3 separate regions of the Homo sapiens genome follow, and regions 2 and 3 are each linked to region 1. Evidence: promoter capture Hi-C in 16 types of primary human blood cells and fetal thymus (Javierre and others, 2016). All regions are on one chromosome and are shown on one strand. Each heading gives the region's core, a stretch centred on a gene start or on the middle of the fragment in contact. The rest is flanking DNA. Distances are from core to core; before and after follow the strand shown. Region 1 holds the start of MAFB (MAF bZIP transcription factor B). Region 2 has its middle 120 kb from the start of LINC01734. Region 3 has its middle 58 kb from the start of LINC01734.

What was found. Contacts are between HindIII fragments. The CHiCAGO score rates a contact against its expected background, and 5 or more counts as called.
Region 2: a fragment that was not itself captured here is called in contact with the fragment with the promoter of MAFB in region 1 in 1 of 17 cell types (endothelial precursors); the score reaches 7.4 in endothelial precursors.
Region 3: a contact is called between a fragment that was not itself captured here and the fragment with the promoter of MAFB in region 1, in 1 of 17 cell types (endothelial precursors). The highest score is 6.4, in endothelial precursors.

The regions. Positions count from the first base shown.
Region 1 is chr20:40,687,971-40,690,523 of GRCh38, forward strand. It overlaps MAFB (MAF bZIP transcription factor B), which reads right to left and starts at 1,266. Exons shown (of 1, transcript NM_005461.5): 1 at 1-1,266. The coding sequence starts at 880. RefSeq lists silencers at 1,129-1,198, 1,219-1,528 and enhancers at 1,479-2,456, 2,457-2,553. The HindIII fragment of the contact is 7,144 bases long and covers 511-2,553 here.
Region 2 is chr20:39,101,442-39,103,994 of GRCh38, forward strand. No RefSeq gene overlaps it. Among named protein-coding and RNA genes, the nearest start is that of LINC01734, 120 kb to the right of the region's middle. The HindIII fragment of the contact is 991 bases long and covers 772-1,762 here.
Region 3 is chr20:39,280,992-39,283,544 of GRCh38, forward strand. No RefSeq gene overlaps it. Among named protein-coding and RNA genes, the nearest start is that of LINC01734, 58 kb to the left of the region's middle. RefSeq lists enhancers at 1,196-1,874, 1,875-2,551. The HindIII fragment of the contact is 6,741 bases long and covers 1-2,553 here.

The sequences.
Region 1 (2,553 bases), core at 16-2,515:
AGGCGTCTCTCTCGCGGGCCAGCCGGGACACCTCCTGCTTAAGCTGCTCCACCTGCTGAATGAGCTGCGTCTTCTCATTCTCCAGGTGGTGCTTCTGCTGGACGCGTTTATACCTGCAAGACTGGGCGTAGCCCCGGTTCTTCAGGGTCCGCCGCTTCTGCTTCAGGCGGATCACCTCGTCCTTGGTGAAGCCCCGCAGGTGGCGGTTCAGCTCGCGCACGGACATGGACACGAGCTGGTCGTCGGAGAAGCGGTCCTCCACGCTGCCGTTGCCGCCCGCCGCCGTCGCCGAGGCCGTCGCGTGCGGCCCGGGCCCGGGGTGGCTAGTGGGCAGCTGTTGCGCCGGGCTAGCGGCGCTGGACGGCGGCGGCGACGCTTGGTGATGATGGTGATGGTGCGGGTGAGCGTGCGGGCCCAGCTCGTCGTGGGCCACGCCGGCGCCCGGGTACGCGTGGTGCGGGTGAGGGTGGTGGTGATGGTGGTGGTGGTGAGCGCCGCGAAAGCTGTCGAAGCTTTGCAGCGGCTGTGGCACTGGGTGCGAGCCGATGAGCGCTTCCACCGCGTCCTCGGGCGTCAGGTTGAGCGCCTCGGGGTTCATCTGCTGGTAGTTGCTCGCCATCCAGTACAGATCCTCGAGGTGTGTCTTCTGTTCGGTCGGGCTGAAGCTGGGCGACGAGGGCACGGAGCTACACGGAGTGCTGAGCGGTGTGGAGGACACCGAGCCGGCTGGCTGCAGGCGTGTGCAGGGCCTGCCCGGACGCTCCGCGCGCCCCAGTGGCTCCTTCTTCACGTCGAACTTGAGCAGGTCGAAGTCGTTGACATACTCCATGGCCAGCGGGCTGGTGGGCAGCTCTGGCCCCATGCTCAGCTCCGCGGCCATCGCTGAAGCGAGGCGCAGCCGCCGCTGCCGCCCGGGAAACTTTGCGGCCGGCCGGAGCGCGCCGAGCCAAGCGCGGGGGGGAAGAGCGGAGAAGAGCTGGGGAGGCGGGGAGCGAGGGCGCAGCGGGCCGGGGCCGCCGGCCAAGCCTTTGTCTGGGGACGCGGCGGCGCGCCGGAGAGTCCCGAGGCTGCCTGCACCGCCCCAGAGCTCTGGGCTGTGCCCGCGCAGGGACCGGGCCGGGTAGAGTCGGGCGGGGTGGAGAGGCAAGCGGAGCGCGCGGTGGGGCTGAGGGGAGGCGTGGGGCGAGTGCCCGTTGCTCGCTCTCTAGCTCTCTTGCTCTTACGCTCTCTCGCTCGCAGCCGCTCGCAGCTCGGCGGTGCAGCTGTGCTGGATCCGGCGGCGCCGCAGCCTTTTATCGCCTCCTGATGTCACTGGGGTGCGGGGGCCCGGGCGGCCCGGTGCGCGGGCCAATAGCTGCACGGCCTCCGCGGCCCAGCGGCGCAGGGCGGGGCGCGCCTGACAGCTCCCCCGCCCCCCGCGTCAGCTGACTGGCGGCCCGAGCGGCCCCGGAGCGGCGGAGGCCTGGCGGAGCGCTGGAGCGGAGTGGGACGGCCAGCCTGGGCCCACCCCCGTACCCTGCAGGTCCCGGCCCACGCACGCTCGCCTGGAGTGCGCGCCCCACCTCTAGGCCAAATCACCGCTTTCCCCTCCTCGCGCACTCTCCTCCCTCAGTTCCCTTTGCACCCCACCCCCATCCCGTGTCACCCCCAAGGAGGCTCAGAATGAGCGCCGGGACAACGCCTCCTGGGCCCTTTGTTCCCAAGCGGCCCCCGCCCAGTGGGCGACGCTCTGTGTGTCCTCGCGGCTTCTGGCCGTGTGTGTCGTGCGTTCCTGTTTCTGGAGATCTGCGCGTATTTGTATGTTGGGGAGGGCGGGCTCGAGGCTCCGAGAGTTGTGTTCAGACCCAACTCTTAACCTCAGGGGACCTTTCTCAGGCCAAGCGAGGGCCCCTCCTGGCGGGTGCAGTCGCAGAGCCCTGAGGTTCGACTCCACTGGCCCCGCCGCTCCCCGCGTTCACCCCACCGCACAATGTTCACAGTGAAGGCGACGGGAAAAGCAGCAGCCCAAAGGCTCTGAATTCCTCTTCCCCGCCACACGCACGGAATCCTGAGCCCCCGGAGCCTCGGGGCCGAGGCCGGCCCGGGACGGTGCTCCGAGTAGCTCTCCACTGCTGGGGAGCCGGCCCTGTTTTTGTTTGAACGTTTTGTAACGATTAAGCAGATCCCGGCGTCAGCCCGCCGCGGAGAGGCTCAAACAGGCATAAAGTGCGACCCCAAGTGGCCACTGTGCGCAAAGGCGCCGCGACCGCCCGGCCCACGGCCGGAAGGCTTGGACGGCGCCTCGTACCCAGCCAGGTCTCCCCTACCTGGCCCAACCCAAGCCAGCCCAGAACGCATACTATGTGTGCACCAGAGCCCAGGACAGGTTCCCCTCGAGCGATGTACAGGTCCTCGGGTCCCGTCTTCGTACTCAGCCGCGAGCCTCGAGCCGCGAGCTCCGCTCTGGTCGCCCCGTTGAAATTCCGTGCCCCAGCGTTCGGGGGTGCCCGTCGGCTGCTCCCTGGGCCGGAAGGTCCTGGGCGGAGGAAGGCCGGTAGCCAAAAGTGGAAGCGC
Region 2 (2,553 bases), core at 17-2,516, 1.6 Mb before region 1:
GGAGGGATGTCAGGAATGATCTGGACAGAGGGCATAGGGCATCTTTCCTGAGCATATTTAGGAGGAATTTGGGTGGCCAAGAGAAAGGATCTGAGCAGACCACCCAGGAGTAGGAAAAGGGGGCTTGGGCACTAGGGGTGGGGTTGGGGTGGATTGTGGAAATTGTTTTATTCAGCTCAACTCTCCTGGGCTTTTCCCATTCACCATGAAAAGAAGATCCTCCAATTAGTCACTGGTCCCAGAGTGTGAGCCCCATGGAACATACCTGAAAGTGACCTGCAGTCAGGAGCAAAGCCAGTCCTGCTGACTGCAGACCCACGAGTATTGTATACCGTTGAGCCACTTGGGGCTGTTTGTTATGCAGCATTATGAAACAGAAATCTGAGGAGCACAGGGACTTCTCCGTACCTTCATGACTCCCTGGGCTGAGCCCACTGTAGCACTGTGGCTCGTGGTCTAGAATCACCTCTGTCTCTAACTAGTATGAGGTTTAGGGGTTAAGAGTGGAATCCCAGTCTCTGGGTTCAAATTCTGGTTTTGATTATAGTATTGGATAAGTCATTTAACTCCTTTTTGTGTCACTGCCCATTTCATAGTCTCCCGTTTCTCCATGCATCATTCGGGTGGGGACCAGAGGCACCTAGCCCTCAAATCAGGAAAAGGGTGACTCCTTCCCTGGCAGCCATCCCTCCAGCCTGCTCAACAGCCAGACTCCAGCTTCACATGCCTTTTTGTGCCTCCAGGCCATCGGTCAGGTTGTCCCCTTCCTGAAGCTTCCTTCTCACCCTGACAGCTTCTCCAGATCCCTTGAGGCCTGGATTCAAATGTCACCTCTTTTCCCTGAGCATCCTGAAGCAGATGACAGTTGCCCAAACCTCTCCTTGTCACTCCTGGATTGTGCTGTGCTGTGGTTATTTGCTTGTTGCCTTCAGGCCTGGGATGGGCTGGGACTGATCAGTTGACCCTCTGGCTTCTTGCCAGAGTTTTTAGCAGGAGACACACAGCATCCTGTACCCTCCGTCTCTTCCTCCCCTACTGAGACTTGATGCACCCCTCACCAAGGGAAGGTGAACTGATCCTGCCTGCTAAGTTGCTCAGTACATAATTACATACCTATCACGGCATGGGGCTTTTCGGTGTACTTATCCCAGCCCTGATCTCCAGGGTGGGTATGCGGGATGGAGGCAGGGAAGAAGTGCTGAGCCCTTGCCTGTGGGAAGGAAGAGGAGGGTGATGTCAGGAGGCAGCAAGGCCCTGAGGAGGAGGGATGGGGGGTCACCTGCTGGGTGAGCTGGCCTGGGGTTCCCTGGGAGCTTGGGCCCTTCATTAACAGTTTGAGGCACGGAGACCTCAGGTCTGGACTTCTTCCACCACTGACTCACTTCTTGTCTGGCTTGAAGTCTACATTCAAATATGTTGTTTCCTTTCCCTGAGCATCCCAAGCAGATATTAGCCCTGCACCTGAAGCTCCCAAGTTCCCTCCATATCTTGGTGACACTCAAGTACCATACTCTGAAATGGCGGGGTGGGATGGGGGGCATCAAAAGACACTAGAACTTTGATTTCCAGTTTTCTACATTCCATAGGCAAGTAAAATAAAACAAATGAAATACCCAGAGGAGATACCCTTATGTAAAGAGCAGGCCATATCTTTTCTAAGTAATGATGTATAAAACAGCTGTCTTCTTTTATTATTACTATTTCACAAAAGAAAGAATAGTTTAATAGTAAAAACTGGGAGAAAGATATGGTCTCAGAATTAAGCTTCTCCCAAGAAAGGAGAGGGAGCAATGGTGCACAAATGTGAATATCATCTATATTGTGGAGAAGATGTTAGAGCAAAAGAGAAATTGCTAAAGTATTCAACAGAGAAATATCAAATGCCCCTAAATAAAATGTATAGATTGGAGGAAGAAATTTTCAGTGTGTGCAGAAACGATGATGATGATGATGAGGATGAGGATGATGGAGGTGATGATGGTAAGGACGATGATGATGAAGATGGGGTGGTGATGATGAAGGTGGACATGGTGATGATGATGGTGATGAAGATGGAAATGGTGGTGGTAATTATGGCGATGAAGATGTTGGTGGCTGTGGTGATGATGGTGCTGGAGATGGCGATGGTGATGGTGCTGATGGTGATGATCATGGAGATGGTGATGGTGTTAATGATGGTGCTGGAGATGACAGTGGCAATGCTGATGATGGCAATGGTGATGGTGATGATGTCTGACCTTTGTTGAGCTCCTACTGGGTAATAGGTACTGTACTCCATGGATTATCTTATTTAAGACTTAACCCCATGTATTATATTCCTGAAGCCGCTGCAACAAATTACCACAAACTAGGTGATGTAAGACAACAGCAATTTATTCTCTTATAGTTCTGGAGACCAGAAGTCTGAAATCAACTCTGGGCTGCACTCCCTCTGGAGGCTGTAGGGAAGAATGCTTCCTTGCCTCTTCAGCTTCTGGTGGCTGCCAACATTCCTTGGCTTCCTTGGCTTGTGGCCACATCACTTCAATTTCAGTCTCCCTTTTCACACTGCCT
Region 3 (2,553 bases), core at 16-2,515, 1.4 Mb before region 1:
CAAACAAGAAACAAATTAACACTGTTCTTTCATTAGCTACAGCTCGCCATTCAGTCTTGTGGGTCTGGTCAGTCACCTTTGACCCCTGACCTCTTGCCTTGACCTAGGCATACAGGCCATTGCCAAGCTCTCTTGAGTCTGTATGTAGAGAGATTTTAAGAGCTCATAGGGCCCTCTGAGGTCATTTGGTCAGCTCAACTTCCAGTATTTGTATTTTAGTTGTCAAGCACTTCTTTTCTAAAGGAATGTGACCCTGAAAGTCCAATATGTAAAAACAGACTGAGGTAGAGATGCCATGATTGAAACACAGGATCAGGAGGTCATATTCCTTCTACTGAGGGCTTTGCAGATGCCGTTCTCTTGGACAGAAATGCAATTCCATCCTCCCTGTCCCAATTATCCGGCTAAGTATTACTTGTGCTTTAGGTCCTAGCTTAAATAACACTTTCTTCAGGAAGCCTTCCCTGACCTTCTTTTGACCAGGTCAGTTTTCCCTTCTGTATATTCATAGTCCTGTTACCTCTATTTGCTAGCACACGCCTCAGTTGCAAATTTGCATCTATTAATATTAATTTCCTCTTACACTAGGAGCAAAATAGAGGAAAGCCTGTGATGAGTTTGTTTACTATTATACTCCGGGCACTCATTGCAAGGCCTGGCTTGCACACAATTGGTGTCACTTAATATTAATACCTTAATAGAAGTGTATCTGATTTAATCCCATTCTTTTCCAGATTGCACAAATGCTACTGTGTCCACTGCATGCCAGATACTCTTTGAGTACTGGAAATACGCTAGTGAAGGAGGCGGACAGGAGTATGCGTCTAGTCAGGATGACAGACAACAGAGGAATCATTAATTTCAATGGTGATAAATGCATTTCATACATTGGACCTCTATGTAATATTTAATCAGAAGATAAAGTTCTTTTACTGAAAAATAATTAGTAGGTTTCTAGGCCAGCACATTTTGTGGGTCATGAAGTCAGCAGCTAAGAGTGGTACTTGGAATCTTGTCTTTGTGGTTCATTTAGGGTGGGAGAGTGTCTGTGAGGCCCAGCCACCTTGTCAGAATGGAAGTTTCATCACCCGCTGATGAGTGTTAGACAGTGCGTCAGTTCATCTCAAAGTTGCCAAAATATGCACCTACCTGGGTCTGCTTTGATAAATAGATAAGAACTTGTGTTCCTTGCGAGTCCATCAGAACTCAGTTATCATAATCATCTGTCACATGTTCCTTAACCCTATGGGCAATTCTAGGGAGGTGGCTGATCTAGATGAAAGAAGGTCCTTCAGCAACTGTCCAGGGCACTTGGAAGAATATCCAAGCTCCCCACCATGACCTATGGGCCTGTGCTGATCTCGGTCTCTTCTCCCTGCCCATCTTCATTTTGTTCCATGGCCTCTCATGTTGCAGATGTCAATCTCAGGTCCTATTTGAATTATTCCCAGTTGCAAATCAGGAAGGTATTAATTGGTGCATGTTCTGTAAGTGCTGTTAGAATTAGAGCTACTGGGCTGGCTGACAGGAGTTTAGAGGGCAGCCCTTTTCCTCCTCTGAGCCTGTCTCCCCAGCCATCCCTTCTAAAAGTTGCTGGGCTGATGCTTGTATCTTGGCTGGCTCTGATGCCAGCTCTGACGGGGCCACCCTGGAACCTGCTTGCACAGGCTGTCGAGGGCGTGAGAACCCAAGCAGACAACTCCCAGTCCTACCTCCTTTGCTGTGCCAGGCTGCCAGTGCCAGCTGAGGAGGCCCCCTCCTGCCTCTGCTTGTTTCCCTTGATTGTTATGTAATGTTCGGCAGCAGGAGGTAAATTCCTCTCCAATTTCCAGGCCCGTTACAGCGCATGAACCCCACCGTGGGGAGCCACAGTGATTGAGCTCAGCAGCCAGGTCCCATGCTGAGTGTCATAAATCAGGCCTATTACCAGCTTCTCCTGGCAGATGCCATAGCCAAGAACCTGCCCACTGCTTGCGAGACCCAGCCGCCTCTGCATACTGTTAAACCAGGGCTGACAGATCCACCGGGGATTTAGGGGATCTTCATGACACTCTGGCTGGGTGTTGCCAGGAATCTTATTCTGAGAGAGCAGGAGGTGACACAGCCCTTGGCAAGGCATCTCAGACCTGAGATCTCACAGCCTGATGTACGGGGAGCAGAATCAGGGCATGATCACCTGCAGGCTACCTGGATTTCCTGGTATGGTGGCCTCTTGTGTGCCTGGCTGTACACGTAAGAACCTCTAGGGGACTTGTTAAAAAATATACATCTCCCAGGTCCATCCCCAGAGATTCTGATTTGGTAAGTGTTCCTTGGGACATGGAAATTAGCATTTTTTACTAGATCCCAGGTGATTCTGATGCAGGTGGTTCCTGGACCACCCTTTGAGAAATGCTGCTTTGGGACCAGCTGTATCCCTGAAGTGATGCCTGTAAAATGAATGCCTATAAATTGTGGGTCTTTTTTTTCCATTTCCTTCTATCATTTGGCTGAAGATGTGTTTGCCTGGGGAAGAAGATGTGGGCTTCAAGAATCAATGGCAATCAAACTGAA